2 separate regions of the Homo sapiens genome follow, and region 1 is linked to region 2. Evidence: promoter capture Hi-C in human tissues and cell types (Jung and others, 2019). All regions are on one chromosome and are shown on one strand. The core of a region is centred on a gene start or on the middle of the fragment in contact, and the rest is flanking DNA. Distances in the headings are between cores, read along the strand shown.

Evidence for each region. The method cuts DNA at HindIII sites, captures the fragments that hold promoters and counts their contacts. A contact is called where the count stands out against the background at its distance.
Region 1: a fragment that was not itself captured here is called in contact with the fragment with the promoter of CCDC167 in region 2 in 1 of the 25 tissues and cell types used here (dorsolateral prefrontal cortex).

What each region holds. Positions count from the first base shown.
Region 1 is chr6:38,519,271-38,525,633 of GRCh38, forward strand. All of the region lies in intron 6 of BTBD9 (BTB domain containing 9), which reads right to left. Among named protein-coding and RNA genes, the nearest start is that of BTBD9-AS1, 41 kb to the left of the region's middle. The HindIII fragment of the contact is 5,406 bases long and covers 1-4,963 here.
Region 2 is chr6:37,497,129-37,503,293 of GRCh38, forward strand. It overlaps CCDC167 (coiled-coil domain containing 167), which reads right to left and starts at 2,765. Exons shown (of 4, transcript NM_138493.3): 1 at 2,694-2,765. The coding sequence starts at 2,735. RefSeq lists an enhancer at 2,758-2,957. The HindIII fragment of the contact is 4,936 bases long and covers 1,103-6,038 here.

The sequences.
Region 1 (6,363 bases), core at 1,011-3,510, 1.0 Mb after region 2:
GTTGTATGGACTTGTCCTAAGACTTGTGCATTTCTTTGTAAATTTTGTATCAAAAGAAAAAGATAAATAAGTATTGAATTCTATAATACCTATGCTGAAGTATTTAGGAGAAAGTATACTGATAGCTGCAATTTATTTTGAAGTGAATTTTTTAAAGATGCAGTGACAGATGAAGACAGGCTGATAGATATGTGACACAGCAAGCAGAGTAACATACTTGTATTTATATATCCTTGTACTGTAAAGTATACTAAACTGTCACTTTAAAATCCTTTCAACCTTGCTTTTTCATTTGAAAAACTTCATTAATAAAATTTGGGTGTGGGAGGAACTCAAGCTGCAGTCCCACTCTGCTGGCAGTGCTGTGAGCAATAGCTCAGGAGCTCTCTCTGGTCATGTTTTCCAGGGTTTCAGTAAACAAGCATGCAGAAAGAATCAGGAATAAGGAGTGAAAGAGTTTTGAGTTGTCTGAGTTGTCTCCAGCTCCAGCTACCCTTGAGGCCTAGCTGCATCCCTGCCATTTCAGCTGTTACATAAGCCAAGAACTTCTGGTTTGCACCTAAGCTAGATCAAGGTGAGTTCCTACTGCTTACAACCAGAGTCTTGACTAACATACTAGCCTAAGGCAATAATAAGCATTGCAGACAAAGAAAGATAACCACTGTAGCATCACTTATAAGAACAAAATACATAAATTACCTAATCATTCAGTAAAAGAAAAATAGTGACAATTTTATGGTGTTTTAAAATATTAAATGAAAATCTCACAAAACTATATGTATAAAACTATATACACACACATGCATATGCATACACACATACATATACATTATGATCCAATTTTGTAAAAAGAAAAAAACTGACAGAAAAAAAAAATCACATGAAAATACACAAAATTGTCGGCCAGGCACAGTGGCTCACACCTGTAATCCCAGCACTTTGGGAGGCTGAGGTGGGTAGATAACCTGAGGTCAGGAATTCCAGACCAGCCTGGCCAACATGGCAAAACCCCATTTCTACTAAAAATAAAATGAAATAAAATTAGCTGGGTGTGGTGACACGCATCTGTCGTCCCAGCTACTCAGGAGGCTGAGGCAGGATAATCACTTGAACCCGAGAGGCAGAGGTTGCAGTGAGCCGAGATCACACCACTGCACTCCATCCTGGGAGACAGAGCAAGACTCCATCTCAAAACAAAAAAACAAACAAACAAAAAATACACAAAATTGTCAACTTTGGTTATCTCTGGGTTTAGGATGATTTTGTTAAAATTTATACTTTACTTACTAAGTTTTCTTCAATAACCATATATTACTTGTAGAATAACCAAAAAGGAAGTTAGTTTTAAAAAATTAATTTACTGCCATTAAATATTTAAAAGGCCAGGCATGGTGGCTCATGCCTGTAATCCCAGCACTTTGTAAGGCTGAGGTGGGAGGAGCGCTTTAGCTCAAGAGTTCGAGACCAGCCTGGGCAACACAGAGAGACCACATCTCTACTAAATATTAAAAATAAAAAATTTAAAAAAAAGCCAGGCCTGGTGGCGCATGCTTGTAGTCCCAGCTACTTGGGAAGCTGAGATGGGAGAATTGCTTGAGCTCAGTAGAAAGAGGCCACAGTGAGCTATAATTGTGTCACTGCACTCCAGCCTGCTTGACAGAGTGAGACCTTGTCTCAGACAAAAAGAAAAAAAGAAAAAAGATATGGGTTGCTTCCTAGGCACCATTCCCACCATAAATGATCTAAATATTCATATGTGTCTTAAATCTGCCATTCATTTCCCAGGGCCAGGGACACAGGAGCCCAACAGTTAAGATCGTGACCTTACACACACTGTGTACCCACAAAAACTGAAAATAATTAAAAAAAAAAAAAGATATGACCTGTAAAGTCACACCACCTCAGTTCAAATCGCCACTCTGCCCTTTATTGAATGTATGGTTTAGGGAAAATCAGTTAATCTTTTTTACCTTAATTTCTCCATCTACAAAATGTGGAAATAGTACCTTACTATTACAAGTTTAAGAAATAAATGAAATAATATATATAAACATTTAAAACAGTGCTTGAAGCACAGGAGATGTTAACCATCATTGTTACCATTCTTATTAGCAGCTTTTCTACTTTAATACAGGTTGAGTATCCTTATATGAAATGCTTCAGACCAGAGGTGATTCACATTTCAGATTTTTTCAGATTTCAGAATATCTGCATTATACTTACTGGTTGAACATCCCAAATTTAAAATTCTGAAATCTCAAATGCTCCATTGAGAATTTCCTTTGAGCATCAAAAAGTTTCAGATTAGGAAGCATTCAGATTTCAGATTTTCAGATGTGGGAGGCTTACCTGTAACACAATTTAACTCCTCAGGCACTATGAATTCACTCATTTCTACCTCCTCACTACTTCTTTTTTTTTTAAATGGAGTTTTGCTCTTGTCACCCAGGCTGGAGTGCAATGGCACGATCTTGGCTCACTGCAACCTCTGCCTCCTGCGTTTAAGCAATTCTCCTGCCTCAGCCTTCCAAGTAGCTGGGATTATAGGCGCCTGCCACCATGCTTGGCTAACTTTTGTATTTTTAGTAGAGACCAGGTTTCACCATGTTGGCCAGCCTGGTCTCCAACTCTTGACCCCAGGTGATCCACCCGCCTCAGCCTCCCAAAGCGCTAGGGTTAGAGGTGTGAGCTACCACACCCAGCCCCTCCTCTCTACTTCTAAGTTATCAGTTTTTACACCTAGCCTATTCCCTCTTTTCAGTCATGCCCTGTCCTAGGCACAAGACAACATCCCACTGCCCGAGTGTGGGCCTCCTCCTTTCTGAAGCTAAGCTCGCAGGCTCCGTCTTATCCTTCCCATCTGCTCCAGCTCCTTGCCAGTTCATTCCATCTCCCTCTCCCTAATCTTTCAAATGCTTAGAACAGTGCCTGCTAAGGCTTTGTTCTCTACTGGCTTTTCTCTCTCTGGCTGAAAATGTACACATATGCCATTTTTTGAGAAAAAACAAAAAAACAAAAAACCAACAATTTGAACCTACTAGAGCTATTCTATATTTCTTCTTCCTTTCACATTTATACTTCTCAAATTAAAGTCCCTATACTCTACTGAAACTTCACTTAATAAGATTACTAATGGCCTTCTTATTGCCAGATTCAATAACTATTTTAGGCTCATTCTGTTTGTTCTGCAGCCTCTGACATCACTGACTATGTGCTCTGTTTGCAAATGCTTCTTTGACGTCCGTCTGGGTCTTCTCCCAGTTCTTTGGCTGCTTTGCCACATTCTTTCAAACCAGATGTTCTTCAACAAATAAGCCCAGCTCTTCCCATTGCCTCTCTTGGAGATCTTGATGCTTCCCATGGCTTCAAATATTAGCTCTAAGGAGGTGACCATATATCTAACTCCAGTTCTGACTTCTCAGTATCAGTCCTTCTTCTTGAGTTTCAGCCATCCATTTCCAACTACCAGTCAGGGATTTCCAATTGGCCTTTCAATCTAACGATGTCTGAAAAGTCTGATATTCCACCCACAGACAGCTCCCTATTCTAGTTTTCCCTCTGTAGTGAAAGATACCAAGTGTGGGGAGACTGCATACTAGGCAGGAGAAATCTGCTCAAAAAAAGAGTCAGGGCTGGGCACAGTGGTTCATGCCTGTAATCCCAGCACTTTGGGAAGCTGAGGCGGGTGGATCACCTGAGGTCAGGAGTTTGAGACCAACCTGGCCAACATGGTGAAACACCATCTCTACTAAAAATACAAAAATTAGCCAGGCGTGGTGGCACGTGCCTGTAATCCCAGCTACTCAGGAGGCTGAGGAAGGAGAATCACCTGAACCCAGAAGATGGAGGTTGCTGTGAGTTGAGATCGCTCCACTGTACTCCAGCCTGGGTGACAGAGCAGGACTTCGTCTCATTAAAAAAAATAGAGGCAGGCAAAATCCTTTGAATTTTCCATGATGACACCTCTTGCAGACACCTCTTCTTCTCCATTTTTACTGTACTACCCCAGTCTAGCCCTGTGCTATAACATCCTAACTGGTCACCCTGCCACCACTCACCAACCGTCTCCACCAATCTAGCAATCTATTTTATATTAAAATTAAAATATTGCTTGTACTATAACACTTACAAAGATCAAATCCAAACTCCAGACAGTTTGGACTTTCAGAAGTTTGGAAGTCTCTGAGAGTTGGGCCAAAGCCTACTACCCTTGTGCCCTGCCTTCAAACCCTCCTGTTTCAGAGAGCTCTGTCCCAACCAAACCAATCCACTCAGTGCCCTCTACACACCTTGTAGTCTCCCTGTCTTGCATGAACAGGTCTCTCCCCTCCTCTAAGATTATCCAAATGCTATCTGCCCTTCAAATATCTGCTTAATCCCACCATAAGTTCTTCCAACAACATTTTAGCCTACAGTATTTTTTTCATTATCATTAGCAGGCACTGTATCATTAGCAGGCACTTTATAGATAGTAGCTAACTTTATTTAAATCTCACAATAATGCTCTAAGTCAGGTACTGTTATTATCTATATTTAACAGATGGGGAAACAGAGGCACAGAAAAGCTAAACAACTGCTCAGACATATTGCTAATGAATGGCAGATTCACGGTTCACACCCAGGCAGTGTGGCTCCAAAGTCTGTGCTCTTAAACCACTGTGTTCTGCTGCCTATGTGGAATCCTTTGGTATTTCTGACTACACTATTCATTTGTCAATAAGCTGCTTTGAGATATCTCTTCAATTATTAGGTTACAGGACATACTTATGTCTTTTCTCCCCAATTAGAGAAATTTCTTAGACAGCAGAGGGTGAACTTTTAATTATTTTGATTTCTCCGCAATTACTAATCACTATCAATAAATATTAATTTATAAATTAAATATAAAATATAAGAAAGTGACAGAAATAAGAGTAACTAGCCAAGATTTTAAAATCTGAGAGGTGACTTCAAACAATTTTTAAGTATACAAAAGGTTTAATTAAAGGAAAGTGGTTTTTAGCTGAGTTTCCATTTCCAAATGATAGAACAGTATCAGGAAAAAACTAATTATTACATATTATGAAATGTAAGACATACTGAAAAATTTTTCTTCTCCTTAGAATTCATAAGAAGTTAAAAAAATCCCAGAAAAAAACTGAGTAGTCTTGCCTGAAAGTAGAGAAATGGATTAGTATTAGAACAGTAAGCACGTAGCAAGAATTAAATCAATGTTTATTTAACAAATGAATGAGCTACCTTGACCACAAAATTATCTAAGTTGTCCCTTATAGAACATGATTTTAATGCAGAACTGTAGTCCAGTAAGTCCAACATTATGAGTCTTCTGAAAAATGTACACAATGACTAAATAACATAGGGTTATTTAGTTCTATCCATTTAGAAACTGAAACTGGTTTTAGTTTTGCCATAGCTGATATTCATTTTGGCAATATTTAAGTAACAAATTCAGTCACTTCTTGAAGCCACCCTTGCTTGATAAACATTATAAAATTAACCCACAAAGAGTTTTGAACTCTGCCCTCTAGCTAAGTTTTTCAAGACTCACAATAAAGGAGTCAACAGAGATCAGAATAATTCATTCCTTCCTTTTGTCCTTCCTTCCTCTCTTTATCTCTCTGTATCTGGAGTAGCTGGTAGTGTCAAACAAAGGAAGGCCAGCAAAACTGACTAGCTGGTTAGTGTCTGGGTGATCAGGCCCTTTGAGATGACTCACCCTTAGTAAAATTTATTTAAGACTGACATAGGCACTAGAATGGTTTATTATTTTAATATTTTGTCACATGGGGGATATCATGATGGCACGATCAGCACTGATATGGTTTGGCTGTGTCCCCACCCAAACCTCATCTTGAATTGTAATCCCCATGTGTCGAGGGAGAAAGTTAGTTGGATCACAGGGGTAGTTTCCCCTACACTGTTCTCATGACAGTGAGTGAGTTCTCACGAGATCTGATGGTTTTATAATCAGTTTTCCCTGCTCTTGCTCGCTCTCTCTCCTGCAACCTTGTAAAGAAGGTGCCTGCTTCCCCTTCTGCCATGATTGTAAGTTTCCTGAGGCCTCCCCAGCCATGTGGATCTATGAGTCAATTAAACCTCTGTCCTGTAAAAATTACCCGGTCTCAGGTAGTATCTTTATAGCAGTGTGAAAATGGACTAAAACAGTTAATTGGTACCAAGGTAGTGGTGTACTGCTATAAAGATACAGAGAATGTGGAAGCCACTTTGGAACTGGGTAACAGGCAGAGACTGGAACAATTTGGAGGGCTCAGAAGAAGACAGGAAGATGAAGTTTGGAACTTCCTAGAGACTTGTTGAATGGTTTTGACCAAAATGCTGATAGTGATATGGACAATAAAGTAC
Region 2 (6,165 bases), core at 1,515-4,014:
CTTTAGTGGAACACTGACACACCCACTTATTTACATATTCCTTCATTTACATACTCCTACCTTAGCCTGAATACAGTTGGTTCTTGTTGTTCCTGGTAGCTATGTCCTATAAAGTTGCCTCTAATATTGAATTAGCAAATACCAAACCAGGTGAGGTTCCTGCAAGCCTATGGACACAACATTTTTGCAACCTTGTTTCATGTGTGATTCTGTTTAAAGTGACCTTATTCAATATATATTGTTGATTCATTAACACTGGACTCACAACCAACAGCACTATACGTGCTGTTACATCATGAGTTATATCATGCCTGAACAGTTTATCTAAAAAACCTGTTTTCTTCTACAACACATCACAGCCTTCTTGGATTTAGGAATGCCAGACAGCACTTCAGCCCTATGCTTGGGGTCGGGGGTCGGGGATCGGGGGCACTTTAAACAGCAAAATCAGGCAGTGGCTCACACCTCTAATCCCAGCACTTTGGGAGGCCGAGGTGGGCAGATCACCTAAGGTCAGGAGTTCGAGACCAGCCTGGCCGACATGGCAAGACCCCCGTCTTTACCAAAAATACAAAAATTAGCCGGATGTGGTGGTGGTCTAATCCTGGCTACTAGAGAGGCTGTGTCGGGGGAAGGTGGGGGTGAACACTTGAATGGGAGGTGGAGGTTGCAGAGCCAAGAGTGCACCACTACACTCCAGCCTGGGCGAGAGTGAGATTCTGTCTCAAAAGCAAAACACAGCGAAATACCAATAAAAAACATGAGAATGAAAAAAACAAAACAAAACAAAAACAGGGCACTAAATAGAACACAATAAGGACCCTTGTTTACAGTAGGACAGCTGAAACAAGGCAGGGCATCATCACCTGTTCAACTTTAGCTGAGAACATGGACTGCGAGCGACTCAATTTTTTTCCCACTGCTTTGCATTTGCCACAAAAGCACTGTGAGTACTGATTTTGGGGTTACAAATACATTTTAGCCATTAGGGAAATTCGCAAATGTGGAATCTGTGAATAATGAGGATCAACTGTAGTTGCAACCCAGACCATTTGGCTCTCTAGAAGAGACCATGTCTCTTCTAAAATAGTTACTATCTGACCATTTGCAGACATCTCCTGCCCCTTGCTCTAGCCTGTTAGAAAAAAACTCACTTTCTTGTTCTTGAAGCCACTGAGTTTTGGAGTTTCTCTGTTACTGCAGCTTATTGTACCCTAATGCAGGTTACAAAGTCTATGTTCTTCCCGCCACAAAGTACCATCTCAGTCACCACTCATAAACCATCCTCTTCACATTTCCATCAACCTTTTTCCTACCAAGTGGGCCAATATTTCTCAAGGGATGCCACTAAAACTACCCACATCACCATGGGGTGTGTGTGGCTTGTAAAAAAAAAAAAAATGCAGATTCTGGCCGGCTGTGGTGGCTCATGCCTGTAATCCCAGCACTTTGGGAGGCTAAGGCGGGCGGGCAGATCACTTGAGGTCAAGAGTTCAAGACCAGCCTGGCCAACACGGTGAAACCCCGTCTCTACAAAAATACAAAAATTAGCCAGGCATGGTGGCACGTGCCTGTAATCCCAGCTACTCGGGAGGCTGAGGCACGAGAATCGCTTGAACCCAGAAGGCAGAGTTTACAGTGAGCCGAGATCACGCCACTGCACTTCAGCCTGGACAACAGAGCGAGACTCTGTCTTAAAAAAAAAAAAGCAGATTCCTTGTTAAGAATGCACATCAAAGTCCTACTGAATTACTCGGGGTGTGGGAAGAGTTCAACTCTCCATTTTTAACAAGCCCTGTGACTCTATGCATGCTAAAGTTTGAGAATCACTGAACTCACTAGTAAGCCTGAAGAAGACTATGACCCTGTACCTCTCCTGCAACCTCCGGGAGGATGCCCTAAGGGAAGGAAAACAGGGGAAGCAAGATGAATTTCCAGGAAGACCACCTGTGCTTGATTCCCAGGCTCCACCACTTCCACCATCTCAGCCTGGGTTCCACCTGGAACCTCAATTTCCTCATCTGTACAAACCTCACAGGCTTGCAGTGAGGATTAACAATGCAATGAAAGTAGCACATAGCGGTTGCTCAGTATGTATGTTTTCTTTCCCTTCTATATGCAGCAAATTATTTTTAAGCCATTCAGTGACATCACCAATTCCAGAATTCTCTTTACATATTCCCAAAGTAATTTTGAAGGTACAAGCTTCCATACTCCGGAGGAAAAATTTCCCCTTTTAGAGGATATTTAAACCATTAATAATATACACCAGAATGGGCTCCCTCATCTTTGAGTCCTAGCCCTTTGGGAGTTCTCCTTAGATTCTACAGGTCCCTATTTCTCTGGGGTCTCCCTCACCTCTGTACCCATCCCTTTTGTTCTGTGTCCCCCGCTTTGAGTTCCCTCACTTCTATGCCAGGCCGTCTTTGGGGCTCCCCTTCACTTCCATGTCTCTTCCTCTCTGGAGATGCCCTCTCCAGAGAGTCTGGTTCGCCCATCCGGCACCTCCTCGGGCTCCCTGTCCTCCGGGAACCCCGTGGGCCTTCTCACCCCTCCCGTCCCTCTCCCCAAACCGCGTCGCCCTCTCATCCTACGCTTGGCTCCTCCTCCTATCTATAGCCCAGCCTATCCCTTATCCCGCGGCCAGGAGAAGGCAACTAACGAGGTGGCCCAACCCCCACTTTTCCCCTCACCTCTAGAGCGACGCCCAGATTCTCCCGCTTCTTTTTAGTCATGTTACTTGCCGGGATCCCCCAGTCATCACTGGACGCGCCCACCAAGTCGCTATGTGCGCATGCTCAAGTCTTCGTGCTTCTCCCTCATTGGCCACCGAGTCAGCGGGAGGTGGGGCTGCTGCCGTCGCCATCTTGTTGAGGGGCGCGGCCGGCTTGGTGCGGACATGTTTATGAGGGGCAACCTCTAGCTTGAGACCTCAGCCTAGATGGGTGGAGGGTGGAAAAGTCGGTACAGGGAGGCAGAATGTACAGCCCGGGAGTAGACCTGCCCCTTTCTTCCCCAGTTTTAAGCCGCTTTGCATCACTGAGAGCCTTTTTTAACCCCATGTTCTCTTTCAGTGTGTTTTGTGTTTCAGCAACAACCCCGTCCCTGTTTAGGCCACGCCCCCCATTCAAAGTCTGTCCATCCTTCAAGGCCGGTGCTGGAGCCTTGAGCTTCTCGGCCAATGGAATCTGATAATGGCCCTCTATTGTTATTTCTCCTTTGTGTCTTGACTTCTTTTTTTTTTTTTTTTTGGTTTGTTTTATTGTAAGAACAACCTACAAACATCACAGAAAACATATAACTGAGAAGCAGCATCCTTTATTCTACCAACTTTATCAGTTCCTCTTTGCTTCTGTTTATTCCTCCCAGGCTTGGCCTCACACACAGTATTTTACATTGTTGTAATCGTACTATACTGTACACCATAGACCCACGGCCTTTGAAATGTTTTGACTGTGACCCTACGATAAAAAAATGTATTTTATACCATGGCCCAGTTACCCATGAAACCAAAACCAAAGTTTCACAGTAAGTACCTTTACCTCCTGTAATGCACTCTGTTATTTTGTATTCTTGCCTATTTAATTAAAAAAAAACAAAGTCGGGCACGGTGGCTCAGGCCTGTAATCCTGTGTCTGGAGTTGGTTCCTTCAGGTGGGTTCTTGGTCTCACTGACTTCACGGTGAGTGTTACAGCTCTTAAAGGTAGCACGGACCCAGAGAGTGAGCAGCAGCAGGATTTATTGTGAAGAGCAAAAGAACAAAGCTCCCACATCATGGAAGGGGACCTGAGTGGGTTGCCACTGTTGACTGGGGGATGGCCAGCTTTTATTCCCTTATTTGTCCCCTGTTACAGAGCACTGACTGGTCCATTTTACAGAGTGCTGATTGGTGCATTTACAGTCCTTTAGCTAGACACAGAGTGCTGATTGGTGCATTTTTACAGAGTGCAGATTGGTGCATTTACAATCCTTTAGCTAGACACAGAGCGCTGATTGGTGCGTTTTTACAGAGCACTGACTGGTGCATTTACAATCCCTAGGTAGACACAGAGTGCTTATTGGTGCATTATAATCCTTTAGCTAGACACAGAGCGCTGATTGGTGGGTTTTTACAGAGTGCTGATTGGCGCATTTACAATCCTTTAGCTAGACACAGAACGCTGATTGGTGCGTTTACAATTGTCTAGCTAGACAGAAAAGTTCTCCAAGTCCCCACTCAACCCAGGAAGTCCAGCTGGCTTTACCTCTCAATCCCAGCACTTTGGGAGGCTGGGCAGATCACGAGGTCAGTAATTTGAGACCAGCCTGGCCAACGTGGTGAAAGCCCGTCTCTACTAAAAATACAAAAATTAGCTGGGCGTGGTGGTGGGCGCCTGTAAACCCAACTACTCGGGAGGCTGAAGCAGGAGAAACACTTGAAACTGGAAGGCGGAGGTTGCAGTGAGCCGAGATCGTGCCACTGCACTCCAGCATGGGTGAAAGAGCGAAACTCCATCTCAAAAAAATAAACAAAAACAAGTTGGTGGCAGGACACCTCTTAGGTTTATTTCATGACCCCTTAATGGAGGTTGAACTGCAATTTGAAAAACACTGCCAAGTATGTTTTTCTGTGTCTTTGAAATTATCACTTGCGGTGGCCTCATGTGCCACCAAGGGAGTCTCTCGCATTCTTGCATTGGACATCATTTTATTGACAGTAACTCCAAATATTGCGAAAGCAAACCTTTTCGTGCACACAGCTCTGTCCTCTGGATTCTTTCTTTAAGATAAATTCACAGAAGTAGAATTACTAGGTCAAAGAGTATGAGACCAGAATCAAAGCTCCTTATTTCCTGACCAGTTATCTCTGTTGGTGCCTGTGTTTTTGTATGTGAATAATAACCCCAACTCAGTGTTAGGGGGAAAAATGTTTTCAGATCTGTGTTCTCTTCTTGATAGAGACATTGAGTGATGGAGCTGGAAGGCGTCTGAGATACCATCTCGCCTGGCTGCCTGACTGAGGCCCACAGAGAGAGAGTGTAGTAAATTCTATCTGAACAGGAAGCAGGTTGTTGAGCAGTTGTTTAGTGCAGTTCTCAGCTTAACACCCAGCACAGGAAAAACTGATTCAAGAACATTGTCCATCAACTGTCAATCAACATTTATTGTCAGAACACTCTTCACAGCATTGGTTCCAATCCCGGAAAAACCAGACTCTGTGCTTCCCAATTATCACAGGCACCGGCCCAGGAGAGGTGAGAAGAGGAAGAAAAACACTGTGTTCTTTGAGAAGTGACTCCTTCTGCATTTGTTTGGCACCAAGAAAAAGCCACAGAGATCTGGGTGCGCCTCATGTCGGTCCCTTGTCCATGAAATGATGGGCAATCTGTTGTCTGTCTTCCTGAAGAGCCTCGTGTTTTCCCAACCAAACCTTGTCCCACAGGTCTGATAATGGGAAGAAATGCTTGAAGTGGGGTTGGAATGAGAGTCTATGTGGGTTGTAGTGAAAGGGGAGGCTTTTAGAGGGAGATCAACCTGGATGCCAATCCCAGCTCTGCTTCTTAGCAGCCTGTGATGTGAGGCAAGATACTTCAGCCCCGTAAGCTTCAGCTTCCACATCTATAAAACAAGCACATCATACCAAACTCATAGGGCATTTGTGAGAAGTACTAAGTGGCGGGTGCTGTGGCTTGTGAGTGCCTAGGAGAGGCTCAGCAGGACTGATGAGGCTGCTGCCAGCTTGTCGTTATAGGGTTTTGTTTAGCAATTGTTGCCATGGGTATTTTTTGTTATTATTTTGTTTTCAGTTTCTATCAGCTTTGACACTATTGTATCTGTTGTTATAAATTTGGGGCAAATACTTGGGTGGTTTCCTGCTATCATGGGTGCATAGTTCACTGCAAAAAGGCAGCCCCTTGCAAACACAAGCGTTTCTCTGTAAACAGGAGATGCCCTCTCCACCTGTCTATGTGTCCTTCCTGCTGAGACCATCAATTACGGGTTTCCTTTGCCCCAGACATCGCAGACAATAGTGACCTGCGTGGTGTCAGGGAGGATGCAAGCACCCCAGGTACCCCACTGAGGTCCTTTCATCCCCCTGGCACATACAGAGACCCAGCCTGGATTCCCATGGAGGCTGTTTGCTGAGCCTTAGAGCAGCTTGACTTGCCTCCATGTTGGAAATT